2 separate regions of the Homo sapiens genome follow, and region 1 is linked to region 2. The links are contacts of gene promoters, found by promoter capture Hi-C in blood cells and fetal thymus (Javierre and others, 2016). All regions are on one chromosome and are shown on one strand. Each heading gives the region's core, a stretch centred on a gene start or on the middle of the fragment in contact. The rest is flanking DNA. Distances are from core to core; before and after follow the strand shown.

Region 1 (6,414 bases), core at 3,693-6,192, 290 kb after region 2:
AAATATGATTCATTACAGAAACAGAACTAGGGGCAAAAACCACATGATTATTTCAATAGATGCAGAAAAGACTTTCATTACAGTTCAACATCTATTCATGTTAAAAACTCTCAATAAACTAGGTATAGAAAAAAAAGACACCTCAAAATGATAAGAGCCATCTATGACATACCCACAGCCAACATTATACTGAATGGGCGAAAGCTAGAAGCATTCTCCTTGAAAACCAGAATGAGACAAGAATGTCGTCTCTCATCATTCCTATTCAACATAGTACTGGAAGTTCTGGTCTGGGTAATCAGGCAAGAGAAAGAAAGAAAGGGCATCCAAATACGAAGAAAGGAAATCAAACTATTCTTGTTTGCAGATTACATGATCCTATATATAGAAAACCCCATAGTCTCAGCTCAAAAGCTCCTTAAGCTGATAAACAACTTTGGCAAAGTCTCAGAATGCAAAATCAATGTGCAAAAATTACCAGCATTCCTATACACAAACAACACTCAAGCCGAGAGCCAAATCATGAACAAACTCACATTCACAGTTGCCACAAAAAGAATAAAATATCTAGGAATACACCTAACTAGGGAGGTGAAAGATCTCAAGGAGAACTACAAACTGCTGCTCAAAGAAATCAGAAATGACACAAACAAAACACATTCCATGCTCATGAATAGAAAGAATCAATATCATTAAAATGTCCATACTGCCAAAAGCAATTTATATATTCAATGCTATTCCCAATAAACAACCGCTGACATTCTCATAGAATTTAAAGTAATTATTTCAAAATTTATATGAAACCAAAAAAGCCTGAATAGCCAAGGCAATCTTAAGCAAAAATAACAAAGCTGGAGGCATCACGCTACTCAACTTCCAGCTATACTACAGGGCTACAGCACCAAAACAGCATGGTACTAGTACAAGAACAGAAACATAGATCAATGGAACAGAATAGAGGGCCAGAAATCAAGCTGCACACCTGCAACCATCTGACCTTTGACAAAGCTGACAAAAAGAAGCAATGGGGAAAGAATTTGCAATAAATTGTGCTGGGAGAACTGGCTAGTCATATGCAGGAAATTGAACCTGGATCCCTTCCTTACACCATACACAAAAAATAACTCAAGATGGATTAAAGACTTAAATGTAAAACCCAAACTATAAAAACTCTGAAAGACAACCTAGGCAGTACCATTCAGGACACAGGCGCAGGCAAAGACTTCATGGCAAAGATGCCAAAGCAATTGCAACAAAAGGAAAAATTAACAAATGGGATCTAATTAAGTTAAAGAGCTTCTGGCTGAGCGTGGTGGCTCAAGCCTGTAATCCCAGCACTTTGGGAAGCTGAGGGAGGTGGATCACCTGAGGTCAAGAGTTCAAGACCAGCCTGGCCAACATGGTGAAATCTCGTCTCTAATAACAATAAAAAATTAGCCAGGTGTGGTGGCATAGGCCTGTAATCCCAGCTACTCGGGAGGCTGAGGCAGGAGAATCGCTAGAACCTGGGAGGCAAAGGTTGCAGTGAGCTGAGACTGCACCACTGCACTCCAGCCTGGGAGACAGTGTCTGTCTCCAATAAATAAATAAATGAAGAGCATTTACTGGACAAGTGGAAGATTATGTTTTATAAACAAAATCATCTTTGAAATTACTGGCTGATTCCTCTTTAAAAGGTACAAATAGGTCTTTTTAAAAACTTTTAAGTGTTAGGGTACAAGTGCAGGTTTGTTACATAGGTAAACTTGTGTCATGGGGTTGTATAGATTATTTAATAACCCAGGTATTAAGCTTAGTACCATTATTTCTCCTGATCCTCTCTTCCCACCTTCCACTTTTTGAAAGACCCCAGTGTGTCATTCCCCCCCGTGTCCGTGTTCTCATTATTTACTTGTCACTCATAAGTGAGAACAAGTAGTATTTGGTTTTCTGTTCCTGTGTTAGTTTGCTAAGGATAATGGCCTCCAGCTCCATGCAGATCTCTGCAAGGGGCATGATCTCATTTTTCTTATGACTCCATAGTATTTCATGGTATATATGTACATTTTTCTTTGTCCAGTGTATCATTGATGGAAATTTAGGTTGAGTCCATGTGTTTGCTGTGGTGGATGGTGCTGCAGTGAACATACATGTGCATGTGTATTTATAATAGAATAATTTATATTCCTGTGGGTATATACAGTAATAGGATTCCTCATCACACTAGGCTGGGCATGGCAGTTCACACCTGTAATCCCCACACTTTAGGAGGCCAAGGCGGGCAGATCACCTAAGGTCAGGAATTTGAGACCAGCCTGGCCAATGAGGCGAAACCCTGTCTCTACTAAAACTACAAAAATTAGCTGGGTGTGGTGGCACGTTCCTGTAATCCCAGCTACTCAGGGGGCTGAGGCAGGAGAATCGCTTAAACCCGGGAGGTGGAGGTTGTAGTGAGCTGAGATCGTGTGATTGCACTCCAGATTGGGCAACAAGAGCAAAACTCTGTCTCAGGAGAAAAAAAAAAAAAATCAACACACTGTCTTCAACAATGGCTAAAGTAATTTACACTCCCACCAACAGTATATAACCATTTCTTTTTCTCCACAACCTCGCCAGCATCTGTTATTTCTGTAACTTATTAAAAATAGCCTTTCTAACAGGCATGAGATGGTATCTCATTGTGGTTTTGATTTGCATTTATTTAACAATCAGTGGTGTTGCGCTTATTTTCATATGATTGTTGATACACGTCTGTTCATGTCCTTCCCCCACTTTTTTTTTTTTTTTTTTGGAGAGGCAGTCTTGCTCTGTTACCCAGGCTGGATCCCAGCTCACTGCAACCTCTGCCTCCCAGGTTCAAGGAATTCTCTTGCCTCAGCCTCCCTAGTAGCTGGGATTACAGGTGTCCACCATCATGAGATGGAGTTTCGCTCTTGCTGCCCAGGCTGGAGTGCAATGGTGCACTCTTGGCTCACCACAACCTCTGCCTCCTGGGTTCAAGTGATTCTCCTGCCTCAGTCTCCAGAGTAGCTGGGATTACAAACATGCACCACCATGCCCGGCTAATTGTATTTTTAGTAGAGATGGGGTTTCTCCATGTTGGTCAGGCTGGTCTCGAACTGCCAACCTCAGGTGGTCCGCCCACCTTGACCTCCCAAAGTGCTGAGATTACAGGCATGAGCCACTGTGCCCAGCGATATTTTGTATTTTTAATAGAGATGGGGTTTTACCATGTTGGCTAGGCTGATCTTGAACTCCTGACCTCAAGTGATCTACCCACCTTGGCCTCCCAAAGTGCTGGAATTACAGGCATGAGCCACTGAGCCTGGCCCTATTTCATCCACTTTTTTATGGAGTTGGTGTTTTTCTTTTTTTTTTTTTTTTGAGATAGAGTCTTACTCTTTGACACAGGCTGGAGTGCAGTGGTGCACTCTTGGTTCACTGCAATCTCCGCCTCCTGGGTTCAAGCGATTCTCCTGCCTCAGCCTCCCCAGTAGCTGGGATTATAGGCATATGCCACCACAGCCAGCTAATTTTTGTACTTTTAGTAGAGACAGGGTTTCGCCATGTTGGCCAGGCTGGTCTTGAACTCCTGACCTCAAGTGATCCAAACGTCTCGACCTCCCAAAGTGCTGGAATTACAGGCATGAGCCACCACGCACAGCCGGGGTTGTTGTTTTTCTACTGTAAATTTGTTTAAGTTCTTATAGATGCTAGACATTAGACCTTCGACGGATGCATAGTTTGCAAAAATTTTCTCCCATGCTGTATGTTATCTGTTTACTCTGTTGATAGTTTCTTTTGCTGTGCAGAAGCTCTTTTTTTTTTTTTTTGAGATGGAGTCCCGCCAAGATCGCGCCACTGCACTCCAGCCTGGGCGACAGAGACTCAGTCTCAAAAAAAAAAATTAAAGACTACATAAGAGACATTACGACATTTTTCAAACATTACCTTCAAATAAAGAGTGTTCTTCTCACATAATTATACAGATTCAAAATATAAGTAGATTGTGAATTTAGGATTATTTTCCCGACTACTCACCTAGACAGAATAATCATTGAAAACCATGGAAAGAGTATGTCATAAACGAAGTAGTGGCAACACAGATGAAAAACACATCGATATTTCTATAGATGACATACGGCTAATTCATATATAAATTAAGCATCACATTGTCTAAAATTGTACAGAGTTGAAAATTATCATTCAATTCATAATATCAAGCTTTGAAAGCAAAAATACAATTAACTGATCTAAAAAAACATACCCCCTCGAAAAGAAACACTAATGTAGAAATAAAAATAAGAGAGATTTTATTTATTTATTTTTTTGAGACGGAGTCTCGCTCTTGTAACCCATACTGGAGTGCAGTGGCGTGATCTTGGCTCACTGCAACCTCAGCCTACCGAATTCCAGCGATTCTCCTGCCTCAGCCTCCCGAGTAGCTGGGATTACAGGCACCCACCACCAAGCCTGGCTAATTTTTGTATTTTTCTTTTAGTAGAGAAGGAGTTTCACCATGTTGGCCAGGCTGGTCTCCTGACCTCAGGTGATCCACCCGCCTTGGCCACCCAAAGTGCTGGGATTACAGGGGTGAGCCACCGCGCCCGGCCAAGAGAGATTTTAACGCATAATATGCTGAATACAACATAGATATTAAAAATAATTCTTTAGATATCTACAGTTTTTAGCTGTGTGTACTCTTGCAGAGCAGGCATTCTGAATCATTGGCATTCAATGAATGGCAGCAAAATTTCACAGAAAAATGCATTACAATCAATAATAGGCTCTAATGAGAAAATTTAATAAATACGAAAAGTACGGCGGAAAAATTTATTTGTGGCCGAAAAGGACGGCGGAAAAATTTCTTTGTGGCCGGGCGCGGTGGCTCACGCCTGTAATCCCAGCACTTTCGGAGGCCGAGGGGGGCGGACCATCTGAGGTCAGGAGTTCAAGACCAGCCTGGCCAACATAGTGAAACCCTGTCTTTACTAAAAATACAAAAAATTAGCCGGGCATGGTGGCGGGTGCCTGTAATCCCAGATATTCGGGAGACTGAGGCTCGAGAATCGCTTGAGCCCAGGAGGCGGAGGTTGCAGTGAGCCGAGATCATGCCACTGCACTCCAGCCTGGAGACAAAAGCGAGACTCCGTCTCACAAAAAAATAATAATAATCAGAAAAGACTTAAGACCCCACGGGCAGCAGCCCCTCCAACGCATACACCGAGTGGGGATTCTGCCGATGACCCGCCTGTCTTCCCTGAACAACCCGGGAAATACTCGGGATTGCGGGTGCAGAGCTGCCCAGAGAGCCCCGGACTGGCGCCGCGCAGAAACTGGCGGGACGCTGTGGTCCTGGCTGCGAGTCCAGCCGCCATCTTGCGGCCAGAGTGGCCTGGAGCGGAGCTGTGCCAGCGGGGACTCAGGTCGGCGACCCAGGAGCGGACTGTGGGGAGGCCGGTCCAGCCGGTTTCACAGGCCGCTCTCCCATCTCGGGATGCTCAACCCGCACACCCACCGGCTGTGACAAAGTCACCTGGGGCTCCCGAGGTGGAGGACGCAGAATAGCAGAGACAGGCAACTAAAACTCTGGCAGGAGCGAGACAAAGGGCCCGCCAAATGCCGGAGGCCACGCCCTCCTCTCCAACTCCGCGCCTGATTGGGCGGTTCCCGCGCCAGCGCCACTGATTGGATAAAGCTTCAGGACCCACCTCCCAGCGCGGCTTCCCCAGCATTAGTGCATTTTATGGGCAGGGAAACAGGCTGAAGTAGGCAGGGTCACCTGCTCAGGGAATTACAGCTAATTAAGAAGTGAGCTGAGGCTTGAAATGCGCTTGCTCTTTCCCTTACCTGGGTCTACTTGTATAATGCATCTGAGTAGTTATTTTAGGGTAAAAAGAAAATTTGGACACCTTTTTAACAACTTTTTAATCATTTTGATAATGCAGGAAAAACCTTCATCCCATCCCTGAGCCCCTCTCTCACCATGCTGTACCACACTGCTGACCACATCGTGGGATGGCCATTAGGAATGGGGCGGGGGGGAGGTGGGCAGAGGGGGCTGAGAATGGGTAAGCATGAATTACGTTGGCCAAATGTGCTCATCTTAGAAAGGCTCCTCAGGCATTTTGTGTGAAGCGTCTATCCTTGGGGTAATTGTGCCCTGACTGCGCTGCATCTCAGTCTGACTTCTCCTTTTGAAAATCACTGGATTACTTTCATTAACGGGTGTGTTTCATTTTCTATTTGAAAATGGCCAGGCTGGGCGCTGTGGCTCACGCCTGTAATCCCAGCACTTTGGGAGGCCGAGGCGGGCGGATCACCTGGGGTCAGGAGTTCAAGACCAGCCTCAACATGGAGAAACCCCGTCTCTACTAAAAATACAATTAGCCAGGCGTGGTGGTGCACGCCTGTAATCCCAGCTACTCAGGAGGC
Region 2 (6,171 bases), core at 2,139-4,638:
TTTATTTTTATTTTGGAAACAGCAGATTTCGATACAAGATGGTCCCCTCTACTGCAACCCTAAAAAACAAATAACGTGAAGTCCTTGTTTCCACTTTTAAAACCCACAGTTCTGCTATTTCATAGTGGGATTTGAGACTAAATAAGTACACTTTTGATGGTGACAGAGTAATATCAATGTCTAAAGTTTTGGTCTATCTCTCAAAATTGAGAACGTGACCAAAAGGGAGAAATTGTTAAATTAATTATCTCTAAAGCTGCACCCTTTCCTGTTTAACTTTGGTCACTAGGTTTTTTTGTACATAGTAAACTGAAACCTAACTGGATATATAAATAGACTGTAACCCATTATTGTACCAACCACTGTGCTTCTGCCAATAAAAGAACATCAAGTGTTCAAATCATGATTAAATAAGGCAAATCCCAACCTGTAATCAATCTGGCTGTTTCTGTACCTCACTTTCATTTTCTGTATGTCACTTTGCTTTTGCTGTCTATCAATCTGTTTTCATCATGTGGCTGTGCTAGAGTCTCTCTGCGCCTACTCTGGATCCACAGGCTACCCAATCTGCAAATCATTCCATGCTCAATTGGACTCTGCTGCTCACGCCTGTAATCCCAGCACTTTGGGAGGACAAGGTGGGCAGATCACGAGGTCAGGAATTCGAGAGCAGCCTGACCAACATGGTAAAACCCCGTCTCTACTAAAAATACAAAAATTAGCTGGTCGTGGTGGCGGATGCCTATAATCCAGGTACTCAGAAGGCTGAGGCAGGAGAATCGCTTGAACTGGGGAGGCCGAGGTTGCAGTGAGCCAAGATCGCACTGCTGTGCTCCAGCCTGGGTGACAGAGCGAGACTCCATCTCAAAAATAAAAAATAAATTTAAAAAATTTATTAATTTCTCTAAAGATTTTTCCTTTTAATGGATTTCAACTATTTTCTATGATGAAAAATAAATAATGTGTTGTTGGTCTTTGATTTTCTAAACTCATCCTTCAGTTATTTCCCCAAATTATTTTATATCTTTTCAAAATGCTTCTCCAATTTTTTTCTTTCTTTTTTTTTTTTTGAGACAGGGACTCACTCTGTCACCCAGTCTTGATTGCAGTGGTGTAACTACTCATAGCTCACTGCAGCCTTGACTTTCCAGGCTTAAGCAATCCTCCTGCCTCGGCCACCTAAGTATCTGGGACTATAGGCATGCACCACCATGGGTGGCTAATTTCTTCATTTTTGTCATGGAAACAGAATCTTATTATGTTGATCAGGCTGCATTGGAACTCCTAAGCTCACATAAATCTCCCATATCAGCCTCCCAAAGTACTAAAAATACAGGTGAGAGCCACCGTGTGCTTCTGCAATTTTTGTGAGGATTATTCCCAAATGAGCACAAATCTAAAAGGAATCTGACTTCTACTATGGAAGTGTCACTCTCCAGGATTTCAATAGTCTAGGGCAGGGCAGCTACTTTAGTAGTGTCATCTATGGAGGTGCATGGGCTTTGGAGTCAGATAAAGTTGATCCTGAGTCTCAGCCCAGCCACTTAGTAGCCGTAGGACTTTGCACAAGTTTCCTGATGTGGAAGAGTTCTATATACCACATATGCAAAAAAGGTAGAATGATACTGATTGCAAAATGACATTTTTTCATCCCTCTTGTATCTTTGCCCATAACCAGGTGCTTTTACAGCTGTTTCCATCAAGATCTGGAATCTGTTTTCAAAGCCCTATATCTGGCTGACCTTATTTGCTCAGGTCAACAGAAACCTGTGAACATGACAGTGGGCCAGTTTGGGGCCCAGGCTCAAATGGTATTGACTGCTTCTCTTTTTCTTTTAGAATGCTGCCATCTCCATGAATAATGCCCATGTTAGCCAGCTGGAAAATAAGATACCATGAAGAGGAGAAGCAAGGTGCCCCTGTTGACAGACCCAGGAGCAGAAGCTCACCCCCAGATGCACAGCTGTCTAGTCAAAAAGCAGGTGATGATACATGTCTGAAGGAGCTCAGCTGAGACCAGAAGAATGGCCCCACTCAGCTCGGCCTAAATGGCCAACCATTTCAATTATAAACTAATAAGTTTTGGATGATTTGTTATGCCTCAATAGCTAACTAATACATGCACCCAGTACAGATAAGTTGCCAGGATTCAGTGACAGGTTGACTAAGAGTTGGCTTCTAACAGTGGACACCCTCTAGGTACTGATTTCTTCCCCTGATTTAAAGTTCGATGTTTTGTAAGAGAATTTTGGGTAATGCAGAAATACCTGTAGACATGTATGCGTGTGATTGGTGCTTAGACTCACATAGTCCCCCACACCACAGGAGAAAACAGATAAACACAGCCTGATTGTTAGGGCCAAGACCATATAGCAAACTATGTTTGTTTTTAATCTATTTTCTCCATCTCTAAATACTGGAGTTCAAGTGTGTGGACAGAACTGAAGACATAGTTGTTTTTTCTCCTGTGGCCCCATCATCCTTTGTTCACTATCTGGTCTCTAAAAGAAAGGTGGGCAACAGGTGGCCAGCAGTTGTTTATTACCTGTGGCTATTTTATTCCTACTGCCCTCAGCTCTTTCTATGGGAACTATCTGGTCCACCCTAGGAACCAAAGAGAGATGTTTGTAGGGAGAGTCTCTTCTTTCACTCTCGCAGGAAAGAGATGTTCAGGCCCTTCACACCGCTGACATCAGAGCTGCACTTCAATGTGACAGCTATTGTCCATGTGTGGCTACTGGGTTCCCACAATGTGCCTGGTCTGAAATGCGATATGCTAGAAAGGTAAAATACAAAGTCAGCTTCAAAGATTTAGTTCCAAATATTTATATATTTTATCAATAATTACATATTTCTCACACATTAAAATGATAATATTTTGAATATAATGGGTGAATTACATTGTTAACAATCAGTTCAACTTGTTTCTTTTTAAAGTTTGGCTACTAGAAAATTTCAAATCCACATGTGGCTGACATTCATTTTAGATGATTTTCTCTTTTCTAAAATCTCAGGCTGCCTGCTCAAAGGGCCAGAAGCCAGGAAGGTCATAAAAGCTGAAATTTTAAAATAATTGTTATATTCTTTTCACTTGTGTATAGCTATATAATGTATTATTTATTTATACATATGACCTTATACACAAATTTAAAGGCAAATACTCTCTGGGATGGGCCTAGCTCAGCTGAGGGAGGAAGCCCTGTCAGAAGAGGGGGCAGTCTAGGCTGTCACTCTTTCTTCATTGAACCCGCATCTGATCACATCTTCTGTCACTCAAAGCCTGACAGGGCGGGGATTTAAGCATTATCCAACCAGGGACGCTGGGCTGGAAACCGTCCAATCAGGCATGCAGCTGGAGCGGACTGGACGGCTTCCGGGTTTGGCGGGGTCTTTGTCTCTCGCTGTAGCCGGAGCTCCAGGTTTTGCTCTCACTTCTCTGTGTCTTCTGCTCCTAGGGGCCTAGCCTGTGTGGCCCTCTGACCTGCAGATATTGGGAGATCCACAGCTAAGACGCCAGGACCCCCTAGAAGCCTAGAAATGGTGAGAGTGCCCGGTCCGACATCCCGAGAGACGGCGAAAGGGCTGGTTGGAACTGGTGGGAAGTAGCTGTGGCGGGACTCAGGCCTCTCCGCAGTCAGCTTCACAATCTGCGCCTTGCCCAGCTCGGCCTCCGTCCCCTTCGGCCATAAGATGGCGGCTGCGCTGACAGCCAGGACCCCAGGCGTCCTTTCTCTTCCCTGCGTAGTGACTGTGCCTTGGCCTGGAGCCCTCTCTTGGCAGCTCTGCACCCGCAGCGCCGCGTCTCTCTCAGATTGTGCAGGGACCACGGGAGGGTCGTCAGGGGAAAATCCTGACTCGGGGTGCGGGTTCATGAATGGGAAGATCTTTGGTCCGTGGCTTTCCCAGTTCCTCTTTTCTCCTATTAAAAATGTATGGGAGTCACTGCACAAATATTAACGATTTTTTTGTTTGTTTGAGACGGAGTCGCTCTGTCGCCCAGGCTAGGGTTTAGTGGCGCGATCTCCCCTCACTGCAACCTCCGCCTCCCGGGTTCTGGAGATTCTCCTGGCTCAGCCTCCCGAGTAACTGGGATTACAGGCGCCTGTCACTGGGCCGGCCTTATTTTTTTGTATTTTTAGTTGGGACGGGGTTTCACCTCGTTGGCCAGGCTGGTCTTGAACTCCTGACCTCGTGATCCGCCCGCCTTGGCCTCCTAAAGTGCTGGGATTACAGGCGTGAGCCACCGCGCCTGGCCTAAAGAATTTAATCAAACAGTGATTCAAGAATCATAGAGTATCCAGCTATGGTTTGTAGTTTGTTGTCTATGGGAGAGGCTTGAAGGAAAGTCATTTATAAAATGTATGATGAAGAAAACTAAATTTAGTAATTGGTTACAGTAACGTAGTTTCTTGATTTGTACAATACAGGTGAAGATTTCCTGGTTGTGTAATCAGAGGTTAATTAACAGTTTATAGTTGTTTAAGCCTACATTTTCTCTGAATGTAGTAATTAAAAAAAAAATGCACCTGAGTTAGATTTTTTTTTTTTTTAAGTAGGAACCCAGGGACTAGAGACACCTCAGTGGAATTGCCTGTCTCTTAATTATTTTCACACTCCACGGGGAACTGATTTTCTGCTGCATTTTTCACCTGTGTCCCAAGCAGGTTGTTAAGTCTAACCCCCGTCCCCCATTTCTCCAGCCTCACTCTGGCTTGCAGTAAGATACTAAATTTCCAATTTCTTCTGGCGTTCCCAAATGTCAACTTTTCCTTCCTAATTCACATTATCACCTATTTGTCCTTTAGTGTACTTGTTTATACCATATTTTAATTAATTGTTTTTGACAAAGCATTAAATGGCGCTTTTAAGAAGATGTGTTATCCGCTTGTAAATATTTCCCACGAAAAGGAAACAAAGACTAATCCTCTGACACTGTATTGTAGAAAATCTCTGTGTCTCTTTTCCTTTTACCTTCTCTAGGCACAGAGATTTATCAGAATGTTTTTGGGTCAAGGTTTTGATTTGGAAAAATCTATGGGGTGATGTGTCCTCAGCCACCCTTTAGTTTTTTCCTGGTCCTGGGTTTCAGTACTATCTGTGGATAAACCGAGATATCCGCCATGGTTCTGTCAGCTAAAGTGCCTAGTGAATGTCAGCTTCTGGTTTATTTTCTCCCGTAGGATGACCCGAGGTATGGAATGTGTCCTCTCAAGGGAGCAAGTGGATGCCCTGGGGCTGAGAGGAGTCTTCTGGTGCAGTCTTATTTTGAAAAGGTAACCCCTTGAGACATTAAAATTGTCTTCACCCAACCCAGCTTTCATTTCTTGGAGACACGTTGCTGGTCAGCCAATCAGATGCTGGTATTGAGGGGAAACACAAAAATAATTTCTGCTCCCTGGATCATCTAAGGGGGGCAGAAAAATAGTGAAATAAATATAAAGAAAAATATTGGAAAAAAAAGTGAAAATTTTGTTACCAAAAAGTATTCCAAAAGACAAACAACAACAGAACTGACCCCAGTGAGATGGTGTAAGAGCTTGCAAAGTAAAATGCACCTGGGGCAGTCACTGGGGCATAATGCAGTGTCTTCTGAGTGGGTGGTTCTTGAGCACATAAGTGAGCAGGAGTGGGTGGAAGAATCTCTCCAGTGATTGAATGACCTGACTTGAAACATGAGTCAGACACATCTGTTATTTAATCAGCACTGCCACTACCTGGGTTTGTCACCTTGAAGATATTTGTCACTTATTTTGACCTCAGTTTTTTAGCTGTAAATTGCATTATATTAGTAGGGCTTGAAAGGTAGAAAAATATTTACAAAGGTCATGAAAGAGGTGGGTTTCAGAAAAAAATGTCTGATCATGTATTTCATTTGTCAAAAATTTGTTAAAAATTCTCATTTACTGTTTTTCCCAGAGTGAGTTAGGAATTTTCTCAGGTGTGTTTTTTTTATGGCTGAGTGATTTCAAACAGAATTTCAAGGCTTAGCTTTTAGAATGCTCCCAGGCAAAATCTCTCAATTTTAGTTTTGGAAAATGAATACATTTCCACAAGAAAATGTGGTGGATAATTGGTGAGTTACATAGATTCATTAAAACATCAGTTTCTTTTTTTTCAGGGTAAATTTGTGACAGTGAATATCTGTGTTCAGATCCTGTTACATTGATTTTT

Evidence for each region. Contacts are between HindIII fragments. The CHiCAGO score rates a contact against its expected background, and 5 or more counts as called.
Region 1: a fragment that was not itself captured here is called in contact with the fragment with the promoter of ZNF100 in region 2 in 1 of 17 cell types (monocytes); the score reaches 5.3 in monocytes.

What each region holds. Positions count from the first base shown.
Region 1 is chr19:21,474,014-21,480,427 of GRCh38, reverse strand. No RefSeq gene overlaps it. Among named protein-coding and RNA genes, the nearest start is that of LINC00664, 6.5 kb to the left of the region's middle. RefSeq lists an enhancer at 5,280-5,933. The HindIII fragment of the contact is 1,474 bases long and covers 4,206-5,679 here.
Region 2 is chr19:21,764,796-21,770,966 of GRCh38, reverse strand. ZNF100 (zinc finger protein 100) reads left to right here and starts at 3,388. Exons shown (of 5, transcript NM_173531.4): 1 at 3,388-3,540; 2 at 5,181-5,273. The coding sequence starts at 3,538. RefSeq lists a silencer at 3,224-3,401. The HindIII fragment of the contact is 10,466 bases long and covers 1-6,171 here.